Regions from separate parts of the Homo sapiens genome. Here regions 1 and 2 are each linked to region 3. The links are contacts of gene promoters, found by promoter capture Hi-C in human tissues and cell types (Jung and others, 2019). All regions are on one chromosome and are shown on one strand. Each heading gives the region's core, a stretch centred on a gene start or on the middle of the fragment in contact. The rest is flanking DNA. Distances are from core to core; before and after follow the strand shown.

Region 1 (4,378 bases), core at 1,879-4,378, 350 kb before region 3:
TTCAATTTGGGTCCCATCCCCAAGATAACTTATTATATATATATGCAAATATTACAAAATATGAAAAATTCTAAATCACTTCTGATCCCAAGCGTTTCAGATAAGGCATACTTAGCCTGTAACTCAAGATGTATTTTACCTATTTACCTGATCTAGATGCTACATTTTTGTTAGGTATATATTAGCTTTATATGTACAGGTGTCAGTGACTATAAGACCTGGCTTTAAATTTAACCTTTTCCTTAATTTTGGATGGGCCACATATATTCTATTATTTGTGTATATAAGGTAACACAAGTCCTTTTGTCTCCCCCCAGCTCCTTTTGCATATGAGAAAACATAAGCCATTTTGTGCCTCTTGCATCTTAAGCCATAGTCTATTTTACTATGTGGTTTCCCATCTGGTTACTTTTGGGAGTATCAGATGGTCTCATAAAAACAGTGGGTTTTCCTGAAGCTTTTTGATTAATGTTGAATTTGTTTATCATCTTTTAGCTGTGCGGTCAGAGAAGAAACGCCTTAGGAAGCCAAGCAAGTGGCTTTTGGAATATACAGAAGAATATGATCAGATATTTGCTCCTAAGAAAAAACAAAAGAAGGTACAGGAGCAGGTGCACAAGGTATGTTGCAAAATTTCAGCAAACTTTCACTGGTCCTTAGGAAACTGCAATTTTATCTTCAATGTCATACTTTATCTTCATGAAACAATAATTTCCTTAACTGAGATCTTGTTTTTTATTCTCAGCTTCTAGCACAGTACTTAGGATTTAGTGGTTATTCAGGAAATATATAAATGAATCTACATATTGTATTTATTTATGTATATATTTTTCCCTCTTTGCCTTCAAAGAGTAATGACTTAGGAATATTGTTATGATTTAATCTTAAGTAAAAATATAGGCTATAAAGTGAAATATATATAGTCTGACCCTAATTTCAAAAGTAAATATATCTTATTTGTCTTATTTTTCAACTCAGTTTTTTAAAATGAAATAGAGACATCTTGACATTCTACCCCTACATAGTTTAATATGTAGTTAAAAAATGGAACATTTTCCTTTATAATCAATTTAACATATTTACATCTTATATAAGATCTGTTTATCTGACATCAACTGTCTTTCAAATTTCATCAATTATCCCCTAACCTTTACCTTTGGATTATTCATACCAGGACTCAATCTAGGACTGCTCATTGTAACTGGTTGTTATGGTTCTCAAATCACTTTGAATTCAGAACAATCCCTTTTTTCATGATCATGATCATGTCTATAAGAGAGTGACATATAAAGTCATCTACTTTCTGTATTTGTGTAATTGCTTCCTCATAGGTGTCACTTAGATTGTTTTCTCTATCTCCTGTTCTCTGTCAAATGGAAGATAGAACCTATCAGTTTGATAGATTGAAAGTTGAACATTTTTAGCTAGACTATATCAGAGATGATAATGTGGAATATATTGTACATTAGAGGGTTAAAAAATGTTTTATTCCCATCAGCCATTCCCTGACAGTTTGTTCTTTCTTTTTTAAAATTGAGACAGTGTCTTGCCCAAGCTGGAGTGCAGAGATGCACGAACACGGTTCACTGCAGCCTTGACCTCCTGGGTTTAAGCAATGTTTCCGTCTCAGCCTCCTGAGTAGTTGGGACCAAAGGTGCACACTACCACACCTGGCTAATTTTTGACAACATTTTTTTTGTAGAGGCGGTGTCCCACTATGTTGCCCTGGCTGGTCTCGAATTCCTGGGCTCCAGTGATCTTTCTGCCTCAGCCTCCCAGAGTGTTGGGATTACAGGTGTGGGCCACCATGCCCAGCTTCCCTGATGGTTTTTTGAAAACCCCAGTTGAAGATCTTTACCTATATCAATAATTTTATTAGAGGTTACAAAATGAAGACTTTCAGATTTTATTATTTTCTCTATTTTTATTAACTGATAGTCTCTTTCATTAATTGGACTCTGTTATTGTCCTGAAATACTTGAAAGGCAGAATAAGTGCTTCTTTCTTTCCCATTAATTACCAATTGTAACATTAAGGAGTTCATTAGTAGTTGTTTTAATTGGAGACATTAGAGCAGTCTCTTTCCCCTGCTTTTGAATTATTGTTGTGGACTTATCAATATTATAGCTTCAGTGTATCTCAGTCAACTTCATTTAATTTTGGTTAAAAAAATATATATATATAATGTAAATTTTATTATTTTATCTTTTTTTTTTTTTTTTTTTGAGATGGAGTCTCACTCTGTTGCCCAGGCTGGAGTGCAGTGGTGTGATCTCAGCTCACTGCAAGCTCTGCCTCTCCTGTTCACACCATTCTCCTGCCTCAGCCTCCCGAGTAGCTGGGACTACAGGTGCCCGCCACCACACCTGGCTAATTTTTTGCATTTTTAGGTAGAGACAGGGTTTCACCATGGTAGCCAGGATGGTCTTGATCTCCTGACCTCGTGATCTGCCTGCCTTGGCCTCCCAAAGTTCTGGAATTACAGGCGTGAGCCACCACGCCCAGCCTATTTTATCCATTTTTAAGTGTACAGTTCAGTAGCATGAAGCACAGTTAGATTGTTGTGCAACCATCTCCACCATCCATCTCGATAATTTTTTTCATCTTTCCAAATTAAAAATCAATACCCATTAACCAATAACTCCCTTTTCTGCTCAGCCCCTGGCAATTGCCATTCTATTTTCTGTCTCAAGAATTTTCTTATTCTAGATACCTCATATACTTGAAATCATACGATATTTGTTCTTTGTGTCTTAAGTAATTTCCCTTAGCATACATAATGTCTTCAAGGTTCATCCACTTTTTGTAGCCTTTGTCAGAATTTCATTCCTTTTAAAGTGTGTTATTCTTTTTGACACTTAAATTACAACAATTTTGGCCTGTGGACTCTATTTTTATTTTTTGTTCTTAGGTAAGTTCCCGCTGTGAAGAGGAAAGCCTTCTAGCCCGAGGTCGATCTAGTGCTCAGAACAAGCAGGTGGACGAGAATTCTTTGATTTCAACCAAAGAAGAGCCTCCAGTTCTTGAAAGGGAGGCTCCGTTTTTGGAGGGCCCCTTGGCTCAGTCAGAACTTGGAGGTGGACATGCTGAGTTGCCGCAGCTGACCTTGTCTGTGCCTGTGGCTCCGGAAGTCTCTCCACGGCCTGCCCTTGAGTCTGAGGAATTGCTAGTTAAAACGCCAGGTAAGGTGGGGTTGGGGTCTCAGTATTTGAGCAGATATGATTAGAGGAAGCAGGAGATTTTAGTATGTTTTGATGTAAAGCCAACATTGTATCTATATACAATAAACTACCCCCTTTTGTCCTGGGAAATACTTAAAATGATGGTTAATTAGATATAGTTACTAACCATGAACTGTGGCACACTATCAAGAAGATGTATTTTTAATAACTATGCTCCTTGCTCCAGTGTTGCTCTTCATGATTGTTGATCAGCCACTGTGTAAATTAACAACCAGGATAACAGGGCTTCAAGAGGAGTACTGCACATTAGTGGAATAAGCACTATGCTTCAAGTGCTGGCTCCACCAATCCTTGTGTTACTTGGGAAGTTGTTTAATCTCTGAACTTGTTTCCTCATCTATAAATGGAGATCATAATGTATTAATGTGTAATGTTATATACCTGACAACATAGTAATTACCAGTTCATTAGAAGTTAATTACCAGTTACTTCTCACTTGATCATTCTTTATATATCACCTGGGGAGAGTTGGATCTAAACATATTGTCTCTAATTCACCTTGTAACTATTGAATATTATAGTCAGTCAAGGAATGGCAAGAATCCTCTTTTCTGTACCCCTTTAAATTTTGGATATAACTTTTTTACATTATCAACAGTAGCTTTTGATGTTATTCCTTAAAGAAACGATTCCAATTGTGCTTAAACTAGTTGGGTATAATAAAAAAGATTTTTGAAAGAACAGTAAAGATAGTTATTATTTCAGTACCTACTATGTGCCAAAACTCTATTAAGTCAGCTCTTTTATATTATTCTTGAGTGATCCTATGAATTATCTTTTACCTATTGAATTTTATTTACTTAGGGGCAGAGCAGAAACTATAATCTTTGTCCATTTATGACCATGATCCAAGTTCTATTTCACTCCACTTCTCCTTATTTTATCCTCACCAACAATCAGTTGTTATAAAGGCAGTTCCGTCCTTCTGACTTCTCCCTTAGTGATTTTGTGAGTTAAAGTCACCACACACACATCCCTCACATTAGTTGGTGCTTGCATTGAAAACTGTTTACTTGTTTTGTTTACTAATATTTTATAATAAGCAAATTACCATCCTGCCTCTTCCCATAAGATGACGGGGAAAACATCAAAAACATTGAGATTCATTTTGTGTGGTATACAGATTTTTTAAAAAT
Region 2 (4,388 bases), core at 1,668-4,167, 420 kb after region 3:
TTGGAATAAAAATGGTCTTTTATTTTGATTATGTGAATCTAGTTTTCATATCGTGCTAAATCCCTGTTTAGAGTTAGGAAATAAGATATTTAATCATTTTATCAATATTTTCTTGCCTAAGCTTGCAATTGAATTTATTTGTTTTATGCATTTTCTATACTGCGATTTGAGAAATCATGCCCACATGCTGTTACTTTGGTCTTTAATGATCTCCAATTTTTAGGGTTACCACTGTGTCCTGCTTAAATATATCATAATAACAGATTCAGTGAATATCTTTTATTTTTTATTTTTGTTCTGGAAATCCTGGGATGCATAGACAGTGAATATGTTTTTTAAATCAATAACTCTATTTCTTATAGCAGTTTTAGGTTCACAGCAAAATCGGAGGAAGGTACAGAGATTTCTCCTCTGTTCCATGCCTCCCACACATGCACGGCCTCCCCCATGATTAGTATTTTCCACCAGAGTGGTACATTTGTTACAACTGATGATCCTACATTGACACATTATAATCACTCAAAGTTCATAGTTGACATCAGGCTCCATTCTTAATACTGTACATTCTGTGAATTTGGACAAATGTATAATGACATGTGTCTATTTATTATAGATAGAACAGTTTCACTGCCCTAAAAATGCTCTATTCTCTGCCTGTTCATCTCTCCCTTTCTCCCTAGCAGCTGCTGGAAACCACTGATCTTTTATCTGTCTTCATAGTTTTACTTTTTTCAGGAGAGTCATATAGTTGAAATAATACAATGGATATCTTTTTGAATAGTTAAAAAAGTAAAGTTCCATGGTAATTGAATGTAGTCATTTAAGATGTTCTTTGTCCTTTTGTTTTTCTTTAGCTTCTTTGTCTTTGTAAGGTCTGATGACATATGCTTTACATACTTAGGAAACATGATTTGTATAGGCCTTTGCCACATAATGGAAAGGGTTGAGGAAAATGACACCATGCAATACCACACAGCACAAACTGGAGCATCTTGCTCCAGTGAGGTGGGTCCAGATAGACTCCCTAGCAATGGAAGGGGAGAAGCTCAAGAGGTTGTACTTTAAAAAACTGGAATCACAAAGTCTTTCATACTTACCTTGGGTTGGAAATAAGACCAGGCAGTGAATGTTATAGATAAATACATATGTTCCTCACTGATCCTCTTCCTTTGAGGGATGACTTTGAAAACAGTCTGTGTTATGATGACATGACTCACCTGCAACTAGATTCTGTGTCGTGAGGGACGGCAGTTTTGCTTTATGTGAGGTGAAAAAGAATTTTTTTCTCCTACTAGGGAAAGGGGCAAGCATTGGAACATTCTGGCAGCAAGAGGGCATTGATAGTTTTCTTTCTGTATATTTTTCACATCATATAGTACTGCCTGGCAGCCTGGCACACCTCGCCGGTGTTTCTTAAGCTTCTCTCTGAATGTGAGGCGTGGTTCCGAGTGTATAAGCTCTTAAAGGAGTGATCTTTCCAGTGGTTCTTTCCGTGGGAGGTAAAATGGCAGGTGAATTTGGGCCTTCTTATACGTAGGGCAGAGTATATAGCTACAACTAAGGAAACCACCCAGCACCTTCCCCAGAAGAGTAGTATCCAGAGTAACACATTGAGCTCTCTTGAGCTCTTCTCCACTGGCAGCTGGAAAGTTTTTGCAAGGATCCCTGTTGCTGGTCTGATTCCTACATTCTGCTGGCTTCTGGTGATAGGGTGTTTGATTCTATACTGAAAAGTTTTAACTGAAGAGCTAGAGAGGCTGTGTTGTGTTACAACAAAATAAGTGCAGTAGTTCCCCGTTAACTATGGGAGATAACATTCTAAGACACCCCCAGTGAATGCCTGAGACCACAAATAGTACTGAATCACCCACTGGTTTTTCCTACACATACATAACCATGATAATATTTAATGTATAAATTAGGCACAGTAAGAAACGAACAATAAAATAACAAATTATACTGTAATAAAAGTTACTTGAATGTGGTCTCTTGAAATATATTGTACGGTTCTCACCCATTTTTTTTTTTTTTGGGACGGAGTCTCGCTCTGTCGCCCAGGCTGGAGTTCAATGCTGTGATCTCGGCTCGCTGCAAGCTCTGCCTCCTGGGTTCACACCATTCTGCTGCCTCAGCCTCCGGAGTAGCTGGGACTACAGGCGCCCACCACAAAGCCCGGCTAATTTTTTTTTTTTTTATTTCTTTAGTAGAGATGGGGTTTCACCGTGTTAGCCAGGATGGTCTTGATCTCCTGACCTCGTGATCCGCCCGCCTCGGCCTCCCAAAGTGCTGGGATTACAGGTGTGAGCCACTGCACCCGGCTGGTTCTCACCCTTTTTCTTGTGATGATGTGAAGTGATACAATGCCCGTGTAATGAGATGAACTGAGGTGAATGACGTGATCCTAGATCGTCAGGCCTTGATGTTGGCGGCGGGCTACAGGAGGAGACCGTGTTGATGACTAACGGGTGGACAGCATGTGCAGTGTGGGTGCACTGCAGGACGATTCACATCCTGGGCTGGATAGAGGGTGCTGACGGTTTCACTGTGCTTCTCGGAATGGCACACTAAAACTTATGACCTCTTTATTTCTGGAGTTTTCCGTGTATATTTTTGGAATACAGTTGACTATTAGTAACTGTAACCACAGAAATCAAAACTGCAGATGTAAAATCTCTGGATCTTAACTCATTTGTTGGGTACAATTCTTAAAATCCTTAGGATTTCCAAAGTGATGTTTTTTTGTATGCTAATGATCCATGGCTGGAAGCCCCTAGGTAGCTTCAGGATGGGAACTGGTCACCATCCTGAAGACATGATTGATTAGAGTGTTGAGATCTTCTGTCTCATTCAGGAGACTCTGGAGAGGAGAGAAGAGCTGAAGGTTGTCAGTCACCAAAGGCCAGTGATTAATCAGTGATACCAATATAATGAAGCTTTCATCAAGACCCAAAGTGACTGGGCTTGGAGAGCTTCCAGATGGCTGAATGCATGGAGGCTCCTACAGGATGGTGTGTCCTGGGAGGGCATGGAATCTCCGTGCCACCTCCCCCATACTTTGCACTATGCATCTCTTCATCTGTATCTTTTGTAATGTCATTCATAGAAAACTGGTAAATGTGTTTCCCTGAGTACTTTGAGCCACTCTAGCAATTCAATTTAACCCAAAGAGGGAGTCCTGGGAACCTCAATTTGAAGACAGTTGGCCAGAAGTTCTGGAGTTTCAGACCTACAACTGATGTAGGGAGGCAGTTTCATGGGACTGAGCCCTTTACCTGTGCAATCTGATGCTATCTGCAGATAGAGTGTGAGAATTGACTTAGAGGATGCCCAGTTTGTGTCATCGGCAGAAATGATTGCTTACTTGTTGGTGGAGAAAAACCCTCCACACGTTTTGTCACAGGAGACTTCTTTGTTATTGTTGCTGTGACGTGACAGCAGAGAAAAACAGGTCAAATGTGTCTTTTCCACACATACAGTGGACAAGGGGTACTACTGTATACTCTGTTTGAACTGCCCGTCATGTTTTGGTCCTGAAATCATGCTCTTTGACACTGTTCATTCATCACACCTGTTCTGCTAACAATACCATTTTTAGTCAATCTCACAGGGTTTGGCTAGGATAACTTGTATACTGCGGTTCACTTGTAGATATCAAATTTTATAAATTTATTCTTCTTTGCATTTAATAAATACAAAGTAAGGGAAGTAAGAGTTCTTACTGCATTAATTATCTACTAATAGGTATAATTAATATTAATTCTAATAAGGTCCCGGTTATGCTCCCAAAGGAATGCTATATAACAAAGCATCAGTCCTATGCTTTAAAAAAAGAAAAGAAAAGAAAAGAAAAAAACATGGTCTGAAGTCTGCACACAAGTGTGCATAACTTTTTTGTGAAGATAGAGTCTTGCTGTTTCCCAAGCTGGCCTCAAACTTCTGGGTTCCTCAAGTGATCCTCCTGCCTCAGCCTCCCAAGTAGTTGGGAATACAGGCATGTATCACTGTGCCTTCTTATGCTTTTAATATTCTATACAATTATTATTGATTTATAATGCAGTATACCTTTTTCTTTAATAGATTCTGGGAGTTCTGATGAATATGCAGTCAGGTAGGATTTTACAGATTTAAAAAAATATGTTAACTAAGGAAATATAGATGGAAGAGATTCATATCTGTTGAGTGTTGTATTCTGGGCTAAACCCCTATTGTGTGCTATGCATTTATCATCCCATAAAGCCATTGCAACATCTGTGTTCTTATAACCTACTGTTTATTACATAGGCAACTGTGGTTTAGAGGTTGATTAATTGGCTCATGACCCCGTAGTTAACAAAGTAGCTGACCCACAGTTAAACCATCAGCCTGTCTGGCTTCCAGATCCCTTATCT
Region 3 (4,538 bases), core at 2,039-4,538:
GGATTAGGCCGCTTTCAGCCAAACTATCTGAAGCTAAGCAAAAACCTTTTGGCCTTCCAAGTTTTGTGTTTTATTGTATAATTTTCCCCACCATCCTGACTGAACCTCTACATACATAAATGTAACAATTTAGGCAAAATAGATCAATTACTCAAAAAGCACACACTATCACAACTTACTAGTATGAAATAGATACTTTGAATAGCCCTATAGCTATTAAGGAAATTTAATTCATAATTAAAACACTCCCCAAAAGGAAATTTCAAGGCCCAGATGATTACACTGGAGCATTCTACCACACTTTTGTTTTTTTTTTTGAGATGGAGTTTCACTCTTGTTGCCCAGGCTAGAATGCAAAGGTGCCTTCTCAGCTCACCAAACCTCTGCTTCCCAGGTTCAAGTAATTCTCCTGCCTCAGCCTCCCGAGGAGCTGGGATTACAGGCATGTGCCACCACACAGGCTAATTTTGTATTTTTAGTAGAAACAGGGTTTCTCCATGTTGGTGAGGCAGGTCTCGATCTCCTGACCTTGTGATCCTCCCGCCTCGGTCTCCCAAAGTGCTGGGATTACAAGCGTGAGCCACCGTGCCCGGCCAAAGTTGACTGTTTTTAACTGTACACTTCAGTGGGATTAAGTACATTATATTGCCATAGAACTCTCACCACCATCCATCTACAGAACTCTTTTTATCTTGGAAAACTGAAACTCTATACCTATTAAACAATAACTTCACTCTCCCTGTCCTCCAGTCCCTGGCAACCACCATTCTGCTTTCTGTCTCTGTGATTTTGACGACTCTAGTACCTCATATACATGGAATTACCCAGTATTTATCATTTTATGTCTGGCTTAGTCCACTTAGCGTAATGTTTCTTCAAGATTCATCTATGTTGTAGCATGTGTCAGAATTCCCATCCTTTCTAAGGCTGAAAGGATTTCCATTGTGTGGATGTACCATATTTTGCTTATCTATTCATCTACTGATGAAGAACTGGGTTGCTTCCATTTTTTTTTTTGCTTGTGAATAATGCTGCTGTGAACATATGTGTACAAATATCTCTTTGAGACCCTACTTTTAATTATTTTGAGGATATCTCTAGATATGGACTTGCTGAATCATATGGTAATTCTATTTTTATTTATTTATTTTGAGACAGTGTCTTGCTTTGTCACCCAGGCTGGAGTGCAGTGGCATGATCACAGCTCACTGTAGCCTTGACCTCCCAGGCTCAAGCAATCCTCTTGCCTCAGCCTCCTGAGTAGCTGGGACTACAGGCGCATGCCACCAGATCCAGTTAATTTTTGTATTTTTTGTAGAGATGGGGTTTCGTCATGTTGCCCCGACTGGTCTCGAACTCCTGGGCTCAAGCAATCCTCCTGCTTCTGCCTCCCAAAGCGCTGGAATTATAGGCGTAAGCCACCATGCCCAGCCTATTTTCACTTTTTTGAGGAATCATTATACGGTTTTCCACAGTGTCTGTACCATTTTACATTCCCACCAACAGTGCACAAGGGTTCAATTTCCCCACATCCTTGCCAATGCTTGTAGTTTCTTTCTTTTCCTTTTTTTTTTTCTAGTGGCCATCTTAATGGGTATATGACGTAGTATCTCATTGTTCTTTATCTCATTGTGATTTGTGTTTCTCTAATGATTAGTGATGTTGAGTATCTTTTCATGTGCTCACTGGCCACTTGTTGATCACTGGAGAAATGTCTATTCAAGCCCTTTGTTGTGGTTTTTGAATGAGATTGTTCTTATTTTGTTGCTGAGTTTTAGGAGTCTCTGCATATTCTGGATATTAATCCTTTGTCAGATATATGATTTGCAAATATTTTCTTCCATTCTGTGGGTTGCCTCTTTACTCTGCTACAGAGTCTTTTGATGCACAAAATGTTTTAATTTTCATAAAGTCCAATTTGTCTATTTTTTCTTTTGTTGCCTGTGCCTTTAGTGTCATATCCAGGAAGTCTGTTGCCAAATCCGATGTGGTAAACCCTTTGCCATATGTTTTCTATGAGTTTTATGCTTTGGGATTTTAAAAGTTGTGGGTCTTTTTGGGTGAATTTTTATCTATGGTGTTAGAGAAGGAACCACCTTCACTTTTTTGCATGTGGATATCCAGTTTTCCCAGCACCATTTGTTAGAAAGACTGTCCCTCCTCCCCGCATTGAATGGGCTTGGTCTCCTTGTTAAAAATTATTTGACCATATATGGGAGGGCATATCTTGGGGCTCTCTATTGTATTCCATTGGTCTATATGTCTGTCTATATGCCAGTACCACACTGTCTTGATGACTGAAGCTTGGAAGTAAGTTTTGAAATCAGGAAGTGTGAGTTCTTCAGCTTTATTCTTATTTTTCAGGATTGTTTTGGCTAATCGAAATCCCTTGAGAGTATATGAATTGTAGAATGAGTTTCTCTGTTTCTACAAAAAATGTCATTGGGATTTTGACAGGAATTGCATTAAATCTGTAGATTGCTTTGGATAGTATTGACATCTTAACTATATTAAGTAAGGATGATTTTTTTTAAATTACTGATTCAATCTCCTCACTAGTTATAGGTTTATTCAGATTATATTATCTATTCTGAGTCAGTTTTGCATTTCTATGAATTTGTCCATTTCATCTACGTTATCCAATTTGTTGGCTTATATTTGCTCATAGTACTCTCTTATGATCCTTTCTATTTCTGTAGAATTGCTAGTAACGAGCCATTGCAGTTGGGATCTGGCAGCAGAGGCTGTGTGTGTGTTTGTGTGTGTGTGTGATCGGAGAAATGCTTGAGAGGGTAACACCCGATTTAGGAGTGGACAGGGTATGAGGACAAAGAAGTGGTAATGGGAGACCTTGCCTTTTATTTCTTTTAATCTTTTTTGATAATACATTTGTGCATTATTTGGTCGTTCTCTTTAAATTCATTTTTAAAGGTAGAAGCAAATCAAGACTGGTAGATGCTGTGCCAAGGAAAGTCAGGGATCCTAGGTTCGAATCCTGTCTCTGTTCGCAATTCGCTCCGCAACCTCAAACAAACGACCTCAGTTTCATCTATGAAAAGCTGGTAACCATCGTCAGTTGCCAGGCCATGAAGAGAGTCAACGGAAATAAGTTTTTATTCTAGGGCACCCGCTCTCTCTCAGGTAAAAGCCGCGCCCCAATCAGGTACTGCCGCGCCAGGGCCGCGGGACATCTCGGGATTTGTGGTCCACCCGGCGGAACTCGCGGTCCCGGCAGGCACCGCGGCGGCGGCAGGGCGACGTGGCGCGGCCGGCTGCGGCTGCGCAGGCAGGTGGAGCAAGATGGCTGTGGAGCTGGGCGTGCTGCTCGTCCGGCCCCGGCCCGGAACCGGGCTGGGTAGAGTGATGCGGACCCTCCTGCTGGTGCTGTGGCTGGCGACGCGCGGAAGCGCGCTCTACTTTCACATCGGAGAGACGGAGAAGAAGTGCTTTATTGAGGAGATCCCGGACGAGACCATGGTCATAGGTGCGGGGGCGGGGAGGAAGGGGCGAGTTTGGAACGTGACCGTGGTCTTGGGGCGGGGGATGCGAGACAGTCAGCTCTCTAGAGCCGGGAGGAGACGGCCTCGCCGTGCCCAGGCGGTCGCGGAACCCATGCCACCTCGCGCTCCTCTGACCTGGGCTCGCCCTGCTTCCCTCAAGGAAACTACCGGACGCAGCTGTATGACAAGCAGCGGGAGGAGTACCAGCCGGCCACCCCGGGGCTTGGCATGTTTGTGGAGGTGAAGGACCCAGAGGACAAGGTGAGCCAACCGCCCCCCTCCTCTCCGCCAGCCTCTCAGCTAGGCGGGCTCCGGTACTTCCTCTTCTAGTTCCTGCATCTGCTAAAGTGGGAGAGACAGTTGATGTTGTGGGAATATCCTGCTGACTTGCAGACCCCGCCCGGTCTGTGAAATGGGCGGATTAATTGTGGTGATAAAAATCAAAGAGTTTTGTCAACTCTTAAAGTCATCTAGACTTTAAGATTTCACAGAACATGATACTTTCCCCACAAAATGAGCAGCTTTTAATCTTCCCAAGTAAGGATATTAAAACGAACGGCAAAACCCTTCAGCTCTCACCTTCTGTCACTTTTCGTTAAAAAACTCATGGCGGGGTGTGGTGGCTCTTGCCTGTAATCCCAGCACTTTGGGATGCCGAGGCGGGTGGATCACTTGAGGCCGGGAGTTCAGGACCGGCCTGGGCAACCTCCGTCTGGCAAACCCCGTCTCTAGTAAAAATACAAAAAAAAAAAAAAAAAAAAATGAGCCGGGTGTGGTGGCGCACACCTCTAATACCAGATACTTGGGAGGCTAAGGCACGATAATTGCTTGAACCTGGGAAGCTGAGGCTGCAGTGAGCTGAGATAGCATCACTGCACTCCAGCCAGGACGACAGAGTGAGACTCTGTCTCAAAAACAAAAACAAAAAAGAACCCCCCAAAAAACAACTCACACCAAAAAAGTTGAAAGGGCATAAGCTATAAAGGAAAGCCCTTCCCAAGAGCAGTCAGTCACTTGCCACCCTAATGTCAGACTCTC

What was found. Contacts are between HindIII fragments. The study calls those that stand out against the background at their distance.
Region 1: a fragment that was not itself captured here is called in contact with the fragment with the promoter of TMED9 in region 3 in 1 of the 25 tissues and cell types used here (spleen).
Region 2: a fragment that was not itself captured here is called in contact with the fragment with the promoter of TMED9 in region 3 in 3 of the 25 tissues and cell types used here (dorsolateral prefrontal cortex, hippocampus and mesenchymal stem cells).

The regions. Positions count from the first base shown.
Region 1 is chr5:177,235,326-177,239,703 of GRCh38, forward strand. NSD1 (nuclear receptor binding SET domain protein 1) reads left to right here. Exons shown (of 23, transcript NM_022455.5): 6 at 496-620; 7 at 2,912-3,182. Among named protein-coding and RNA genes, the nearest start is that of RAB24, 66 kb to the right of the region's middle. The HindIII fragment of the contact is 9,664 bases long and covers 1-4,378 here.
Region 2 is chr5:178,012,509-178,016,896 of GRCh38, forward strand. It overlaps the pseudogene FAM153CP. Among named protein-coding and RNA genes, the nearest start is that of PROP1, 18 kb to the left of the region's middle. The HindIII fragment of the contact is 6,355 bases long and covers 1-4,388 here.
Region 3 is chr5:177,588,915-177,593,452 of GRCh38, forward strand. It overlaps TMED9 (transmembrane p24 trafficking protein 9), which reads left to right and starts at 3,289. Exons shown (of 5, transcript NM_017510.6): 1 at 3,289-3,484; 2 at 3,661-3,761. The coding sequence starts at 3,301. RefSeq lists an enhancer at 4,494-4,538. The HindIII fragment of the contact is 6,732 bases long and covers 1-4,538 here.